Linked DNA regions of Homo sapiens: region 1 is linked to region 2. Evidence: promoter capture Hi-C in human tissues and cell types (Jung and others, 2019). All regions are on one chromosome and are shown on one strand. Each heading gives the region's core, a stretch centred on a gene start or on the middle of the fragment in contact. The rest is flanking DNA. Distances are from core to core; before and after follow the strand shown. Region 1 overlaps LOC349160 (a long non-coding RNA gene). Region 2 holds the start of CHRM2 (cholinergic receptor muscarinic 2).

The links. The method cuts DNA at HindIII sites, captures the fragments that hold promoters and counts their contacts. A contact is called where the count stands out against the background at its distance.
Region 1: a contact is called between a fragment that was not itself captured here and the fragment with the promoter of CHRM2 in region 2, in 1 of the 25 tissues and cell types used here (pancreas).

What each region holds. Positions count from the first base shown.
Region 1 is chr7:137,104,548-137,108,911 of GRCh38, reverse strand. All of the region lies in intron 1 of LOC349160 (a long non-coding RNA gene), which reads left to right. Among named protein-coding and RNA genes, the nearest start is that of MIR490, 200 kb to the right of the region's middle. The HindIII fragment of the contact is 5,588 bases long and covers 1-4,364 here.
Region 2 is chr7:136,867,223-136,871,571 of GRCh38, reverse strand. CHRM2 (cholinergic receptor muscarinic 2) reads right to left here and starts at 2,920. Exons shown (of 4, transcript NM_001006630.2): 1 at 2,580-2,920; 2 at 2,154-2,311. RefSeq lists an enhancer at 1,479-2,241. The HindIII fragment of the contact is 6,446 bases long and covers 1-4,349 here.

The DNA of each region.
Region 1 (4,364 bases), core at 1,338-3,837, 240 kb before region 2:
GAGCCCCCAAAATGGGAAGGTGGGAGGGGGTGAAGGATGAGAAATTACCTATAGAGTACAATGTAACAATGTACACTACTTGTACATTGTGCCTGTAGTGTACCCATCAAACTAAAAGCCTAGACTTCAACACTATGCAATATATATATGTAACAAAACTGTACTTTTACCCCCTAAATCCATAAAAAATAAAAATAAACAAGTCCTGGAAAAAAGCAGTTGTTGAAAATTCTAAACTTTACCTGTGTTGAGGTGGGTGTGAATGCTTGGGATCATTGGTTTAGACATTTGATCCAATAAGGAAACCAGTGGCACACAGAGGATGCTGAGAATGAGGAGATATGCAGGCAGCTAAAAGTAGAGAAGTCAGGAGGTATAATAAAAGCTGACTGAAGAATTAGGTATGTATACTATCCTAGACACGTTAGACAGGGAAGAAGAGCTTTAAATGGTTCAAAAGTCTTGAAAACCATGATCTCACTACAATATATGTAATATTTATAATAATTATTCTGAATTATTTCAAAAATGGACATCCTAAATGGCAAAAAATAATAAAACAAGGAAGTATTGAGGGAAAATAAAGTTTTTTAAAATTATACTTTAAGTTCTGGGATACATGTACAGAACATGCAGGTTTGTTACATAGGTATACACATGCCATAGTGGTTTGCTGCACCCATCAACCCGTCACCTACGTTAGGTATTTCTCCTAATGCTATTTCTCCCCTAGCCCCCTACCTCCTGACAGGCCCCAGTGTGTGATGTTCCCTTCTCTGTGTCCATGTGTTCTCATTGTTCAACTCCCACTTATGAGTGAGAACATGTGGTGTTTGGTTTTCTGTTTCCGTGTTAGTTTGCTGAGAATGATGGTTTCCAGCTTATCCATATACCTGCAAAGGACATGAACTCATCCTTTTTTATGGCTGCATAGTATTCCATGGTGTATATGTGCCACATTTTCTTTGTTCAGTCTATCATTGATGGGCATTTGGGTTGGTTCCGAGTCTTTGGTATTGTGAATAGTGCTGCAATAAACATATGTGTGCATGTGTCTTTATAGTAGAATGATTTATAATCCTTTGGGCATATACCCAGTAATGGGATTGCTGGGTCAAATGGTATTTCTGGTTCTAGATCCTTGAGGAATTGCCATACTGTCTTCCACAATGGTTGAACTAATTTACACTCCCAGCAATAGTGTAAAAGTGTTCCTATTTCTCCACATCCTCTCCAGCATCTGTCGTTTCCTGACTTTTTAATGATTGCCATTTTAACTGGAGTGAGATGGTATCTTATTGTGGTTTTGATTTGCATTTCTCTAATGACCAGTGATGATGAGCTTTTTTTCATAGTTTCTTGGCCACATAAATGACTTTTTTGAGAAGTTTCTGTTCATGTCCTTCACCAACTTCTTGATGGGGTGGTTTGTTTTTTCTTGTAAATTTATTTAAGTTCCTTGTAGATTCTGGATATTTGCCCTTTGTCAGATCAGTAGATGGCAAAAATTTCCTCCCATTCTGTAGGTTGCCTGTTCACTCTGATAATAGTTTCTTTTGCTATGCAGAATCTCTTTAGTTTAATTAGATCCCATTTGTCAATTTTGGCTTTTGTTGCCCTTGCTTTTGGTATTTTAGTCATGAAGTCCTTGCCCATGCCTGTGTCCTGAATGGTATTGCCTAGGTTTTCTTCTAGGGTTTTTATGGTTTTAGGTCTAACATTTAAGTCTTTAATACATCTTGAGTTAATTTTTGTATAAGTTGTAAGGAAGGGTTCCAGTTTCAGTTTTCTGCATATGGCTAGCCAGTTTTCCCAACACCATTTATTAAATAGGTAACCTTTCCCCATTGCTTGTATTTGTCAGGTTTGTCAAAGATCAGATGGTTGCAGATGTGTGGCGTTATTTCTGGGGCCTCTGTTCTGTTCCGTTGGTCTATATGTCTGTTTTGGTGCAAGTAGCATGCTGTTTTGGTTACTGTAGCCTTGTAGTATAGTTTAAGGTCAGGTAATGTGATGCCTCCAGCTTTGTTCTTTTTGCTTAGGATTGTCTTGGCTATATGGGCTCTTTTTTGGTTCCATATGAAATTTAAAGTAGTTTTTTTCAAATTCTATGAAGAAAGTCAATGGTAGCTTGACGGGAATAGCATTGAATCTATAAATTACTTTGGGCAGTATGGCCATTTTCATGATATTGATTCTTCCTATCCACGAGCATGGAATGTTTTACCATTTGTTTGTGTCCTCTCTTATTTCCTTGAGAAGTAGTTTGTAGTTCTCCTTGAAGAGGTCCTTCACATCCCTTGTAAGTTGTATTCCTAGGTATTTGAATCTCTTTGTAGCAATTGTGAATGGGAGTTCACTCATGATTTGGCTCTCTGTTTGTCTATCATTGGTGTATAGGAATGCTTGTGATTTTTGCATGTTGATTTTGTGTCCTTAGACTTTGCTGAAGTTGCTTATCAACTTCAGGAGATTTTGGGCTGAGGCAATGGGGTTTTCTAAATTTACAATCATGCCATCTGCAAACAGAGACAATTTGACGTCTTCTCTTTATATTTGAATACCCTTTATTTCTTCCTCTTGCCTGATTGCCCTGGCCAGAACATCCAATACTATGTTGAATAGGAGTGGTGAGGGAGGGCATCCTTGTCTTGTGCTGGTTTTCAAAGGGAATGCTTCCAGATTTTGCCCATTCAGTATGATATTGGCTGAGGGTTTGTCATAAATAGCTCTTAATATTTTGAGATACATTCCATCAATACCTAGTTTATTGAGAGTTGTTAGCATGAAGGGGTGTTGAATTTTATTGAAGGCCTTTTCTGCATCTATTGAGATAATTGTCATTGGTTCTGTTTATGTGATGGATTACGTTTATTGATTTGTGTATGTTGAACCAGCCTTGCATCCCAGAGATGAAGCCAACTTGGTTGTGGTGGATAAGCTTTTTGATGTGCTGCTGGATTTGGTTTGCCAGTATTTTACTGAGGATTTTTGCGTCGATGTTCATCAGGGATATTGGCCTGAAATTTTGTTTTTTTGATGTGTCTCTTCCAGGTTTTGGTTTCAGGATGATGCTGGCTTTATAAAATGAGTTAGAGAGGAGTACCTCTTTTCCTGTTGTTTGCAATAGTTTCAGGAGGAATGGTACCAGCTCCTCTTTGTACCTCTGGTAGAATTCGGCTGTGAAGCCATCTCTTCCTGGGCTTTTTTTTGTTGTTGTTGTTGTTTGGTTGGTAGGCTATTAATTACTGCCTCAATTTCAGACCTTGTTATTGGTCTATTCAGGGATTCGACTTCTTCCTGATTTAGTCTTGGGAGGGTGTATATGTCCAGGAATTTATCCATTTCTTCTAGATGCTCTGGTTTATTTGCGTTAAGGTGTTTATAGTATTCTCAGATGTTAGTTTTTATTTCTGTGGGATCAGTGGTGATCTCCCCTTTATCATTTTTATTGTGTCTATTTGTTTCTTCTCTCTTTTCTTCTTTAGTAGTCTGGCTAGCAGTCTATCTATTTTGTTAATCGTTTCAACAATCCAGCTCCTGGATTCATTGATTTTTTGAAGGGTTTTTCATGTCTTCTCTCCTTCAGTTCTGCTCTGAATTTAGTTATTTCTTGTCTTCTTCTAACTTTTAAATATGTTTGCTCTTGCTTCTCTAGTTTTTCTAATTGTGATGTTAGGGTGAAGCTTAGTTTGGCTGGATATGAAATTTTGGGTTGAAAATTCTTTAAAAATGTTGAATATTGGCCCCCACTCCCTTCTGGCTTGTAAGGTTTCTGCAGAGAGATCCATTGTTAGTCTGATGGGCTTCCCTTTGTGGGTAACCCGACCTTTCTCTCTGGCTGTCCTTAACATTTTTTCTTTCATTTCAACCTTGGTGAATCCAACGATTATGTGTCTTGGGGTTGCTCTTCTCGAGGATTATCTTTGTGGTGTTCTCTGTATGTCTTGAATTTGAATGTTGGCCTGTCTTCCTAGGTCGGGGAAGTTCTGGATGATATCTTGAAGAGTGTTTTCAACTTGGTTCCATTCTCCTCATCACTTTCTGGTACACCAATCAAATGTAGGTTTGGTCTTTTCACATAGTTCCATATTTCTTGGAGGCTTTGTTTGTTCCTTTTCATTCTTTTTTTCTCTGATTTTGTCACACTTTATTTCATTAAGTTGGTCTTCAGTCTCTGATATCATTTCTTCCACTTGATCTATTCAGCTTGTGTATGCTTCACCAAGTTCTCATGCTGTGTTTTTCAGCTCCATCAGATCATTTATGTTCTTCTCTAAATTGGTTATTCTAGTGAGCAATTCCTCTAACCTTTTATCAAGGTTCTTATCGTCCTTGCATTGGGTTAGAACATGCTCCTTTAG
Region 2 (4,349 bases), core at 1,671-4,170:
ACCGATTGCTCACAAAGTGCAATGCGCGGCCTTTGCCGCACAATCCCGAGTTCCTTACTCTGGAGTTTATTAAAAGCTTCATTTTGAGAGCCCTCTCATTGGGAGACGCCAGGATTGCCAGAAGCGAACAGAAGCGCTGGCGCATCCCAGCACCAGGCATCGAACTTCCCTGGGCAGCATGGAGAAAAGCTGCCGCCCGCGGGTGGGCTCCTGGCGGGGACGCCCAGCGGCGGGGCGGGGCGAGACGCGGGCGGCCTGCAGCGCTGCAGCCGCAGGAGCCCTCAGGGCTCCGCACAGCCCGGCCCGTTTTCCCCAGAGACTCCCTCCCCTCATGCCTAACCCCAATTCCAGTTTTCCTCAGGCCTTTCGGGTTGCCCCAGGGTTTCTCTCTGGAGTCTAGGCTGACTTCCCCTCTCCACCCGCAGAGCCCTGCGTGGGCCATGGCCATGACCCTGGCGGTGGCTGCAGGCGTCCCGGGCTGTGGAGCAGGGGCTGCGCGCCGGACCGCTGGAGGGTGTGTGGCACAGCGTGGGGACTGGTCGCTGTGTGCTTGTGTCGCTGGCTGCGTGTACTAGGGGATGGGCAAATCACACGGCTGCCGCATACCCACTGCCACCCAGCGCTAAGAAAAGAGCAGGAAAAGCAAAACAAACAAAAAAGAAAAGAAGACAGGGAAATAGAAAGTCGATGTGGGGGATTCCGGAGCTTGAGGAGTGGGAGGCGCCGCGCTCTTCTTGGCTCGCGGCGCCTGGGCTGGCAGACTTGGAGCCCTGGGTGGCCGCAGTCACAGACGTGCTGTGGCGGTGAACTGACTTAAAGACGCGGGAGGGCGGCCTGGGTGAAATGTCCACCGACAGTTCTGCTGGCTTTACGCGTTTACCTCCAATTCTCTGTTCTCCTCCAGCCTCTCTGCCCCTGGCGAACCTCCCTGCTGGTATTTCCGTACATGCAAGAGCCTTGGCATCATCGCCAGGGACTGGCGGGTCGGTGGACTCAGCCTGGGACAATTCTGTATCTCAGGGCAGCCTCGAGGACGGCAATGGGCAGGAAGATAGAGAAAGGGATGCGGATGCTGGAGGCGGACGGAGGCAAAGGGTGTGCCGCCGTGTGTGTCAATAATTCTGGGGAATTTTCACCTCTCCCAGATGAGTCTCTACTTACCCCGTGAGGGGCCCCAGGGGCGCCGGGCAGCGCGCACAGGTGGAATTTCTGCGCGTCTACCGGCACCAGGCATGGACCGCACCTGTCCGTGTCCGAGAGCTACAAGTTAGCGGCGATTGCCTGGGACCTCAGGTGCGGACTCCAAGGGACATTGCGGGCGGGGAGGGGTGCAGCGGTCCCCAGTCTACGACCCCGGGGACTGCCCGGGCGGTTCAGGACCCATTGTGAGTTAGGTGGCGAAGCCCAGGCACTGTCTGGTACCTCATGAGCTTCGGGCTGAGACCTTGTCCCCCAGCCACGGCGGACAGTCCAGCTCCTGCGCGGGGCTCAAATAGGATGGGATTGCAGAATGCTTCCCTCTCCTTTGTCTTGGGACCCTTTCCCCCATTCTAATTGCTTCTCCTCCTTGGCCATGACCTGGAGACCGCAATGGGAAACCTCTCCAGCGCCCAAGGGCTGCTCCGAAAGCGGAGCCGGGGGACAGCTCGGAGCCCGAGCGAGCCGGGCCTCCATCCCACACGCACAGAAGACGCGGTCAGACCCCAGCAGGAAGGAACCCGAGGGGCGGGAGGGACGAAGCTCTCCTTGTCTTGTCCATGGCTGCATCTGGAGTGGGTGGCGGGAGGGGGGTCAGCAACAGTAGAGGGAATGGGGGGCTGGAATAGGGAGCGACGCCGGGACAGCGCAGCTCCCAGGCTGCTTTCGCCACATTCGGCTGGACTCAGTGACCGTCGGAATCGTAGGGGTACCTCGCCTCGCGCTGTGCCTCGTTTGCCCCTTCCTTTCAGACCCGCCATCACTGCTCGCAACCCTCCAAGCCCCAGGATCCAAAGTTTCCGTTTGAGAATCTGCACGTGGGGAGGACCTCCCTCCAATTCCCCCAAGCCCCGACCCCTGAGCCTCCGGCTTGGGGGGATATGAAGGGAGAGACCCCCTGGTGCCAGGGCCCTTGGAGTGGGTAAGCGGAGAGCTGCACAGCGCGGGGCCCTTACCTGTCGCTGGTTTCGCTCCAGTTGCCTCCCCGGCTGCGAGGTGGTGGAGGCTTGAAGGAGCGAGGAGTCCTTTGTGGGTTCAGGGCCGATCCGCTCGGGCTGGAGCTGCGCACCGCTTAGAGTCCGAGGCCAGCTGCCGGTTCTCTTTCTCCCTTGATCTTGCAAAAGAAAAGGAAAAGATTAGTTGATGCCGAGACACTGTAGGGGTGGGGCGGGAGAGGCGGGAGAGGCGGGAGAGAACCGACCCCAAGGCTCTGGCGAGAGCTGCGGGGCTGGCGCGCGCGCAGGCAGAGTCACGCACCCCACACTCGTCTCAGCCACTTGGCTAGTCTGTGACCTGTTCGTGGTTTAGACTGGAGTTAAATTGACGCTGCCCCCGCCCTCCACGCCAAACCACTAAAGGAGAAGCAAACAAGACTTTCAAACCTGGCTTTCACGAAGAGCCTGGAGACCAAAATAGAATGGAGACCTGGATGCCTCGGCGAGCTGGGCTGGATTCATTTCTTCACCAAAGTGCTTGGGGAAGTAGGAATTAGTTTTGGGAGGCAACACCTATTCGGGTACCTCGGCGATTTCCTGGTGAAATCTGCGATTTCCAGGCTCTGGCCAACCCGCAGCCTGGAGTGTGTGAGTGTGTGTGTGTCTGTGTGTGTGTGTGTGTGTGTGTGTGTGCCCGCGCGCGCTCCCTAGGTCTTTGCGCCCTGGCGCCTTTAGTACAGCAGGAGAGCGTGTCTGTATTCGTGCGTGTGTGTTCGATTAGCTGCAATGGGCGGACAATTTCTGGAGAGAACATTTACAATTTTCTTTCAGTATGACAGGATTAGTTGCTGTTGAAGGCGCTCCTCCAATGAAATCTTCTGTGCTCTCTGATTTGGCGGTTCTTCTGAGCAAATATGACAGCCGTTTCTCCAGGCTCTTTTTCGCTTCTCTCCATTTCCATCCCCAGAGCCCAGCTCTCCATCTGCAATTTCTACATCAGAACCACCCCCAACCCCGAGTCCCTTCCCTGCAAGTGTGTGAGTGCTACAAAGGTGACATGGCATATTGGGAAGAACGCAGTATTGCTTTTTGTTTGTCGGAGATACTTAAGCCCAGTTTTTCCAGGTGGGAAAATGTTAGACTAAATCCACTATGCTTTGTAAATATATAATTGTGCTGAACTATTCACAGATTGTTTATTTCTTTGGAGCTTTGACAAATGTATCCGAAGGAGAAGTAATTTTTTTCTCTTACTTTAAATATGAGCCAGTGACCATGTTTTCTTCAGCTAATGGGCAGTAGACTACAGAATATATCTATATCTATATCTGTATCTATATCTATATTCAGAATATGTGTATATCCAGAATATATATATCTAGAATATATATATATATGTCCAGGATATATATATCCAGAATATATAGATATATATATCCAGAATATATATATATATATCCAGAATATATATATATATATCCAGAATATATATATATATCCAGAATATATATATATCCAGAATATATATATATATATATGTCCAGGATATATATATCCAGAATATATATATATATATATATATATATATATATATGTCCAGGATATATATATCCAGAATATATATATATATATCCAGAATATATATATATATATATGTCCAGGATATATATATCCAGAATATATATATATATGTCCAGGATATATATATCCAGAATATATATATGTCCAGAATATATATATATCCAGAAAATATATATATATCCAGAAAATATATATATATATCTCAAAAATATATATATATATATCTCTCTCAAAAAAAAAAATATATATATATATATATATCTCCAGAATATATATATGTTTGATGCTTCAGGGAATTTGTGATCTCCATGAAAAAAGATTTAGGATGCAAACTTTCTGTGTTCAGACCTGCCTTTGATGTTTATTTCTTTATTTTAATGAGAAATTTCTGCCAATAATTGTATCTATTATTTTTAGATACTAACCTCATTTGATAAAAGTACAATGATAGGATTCTAAAGTGTAGCTTAGGCCAAAACTTGCTTTTGTAAAAGCATATGTGTATGTGAATATAACATCAATATATTATATATTACATAGGCTTTATTTTCTCTCATCCAACTTCAATCAAATAAAGAGCAAGAAGTGGAAACCTTAAATTGAATAGCCCAGAATTGGACACATCACTTTTTGGGT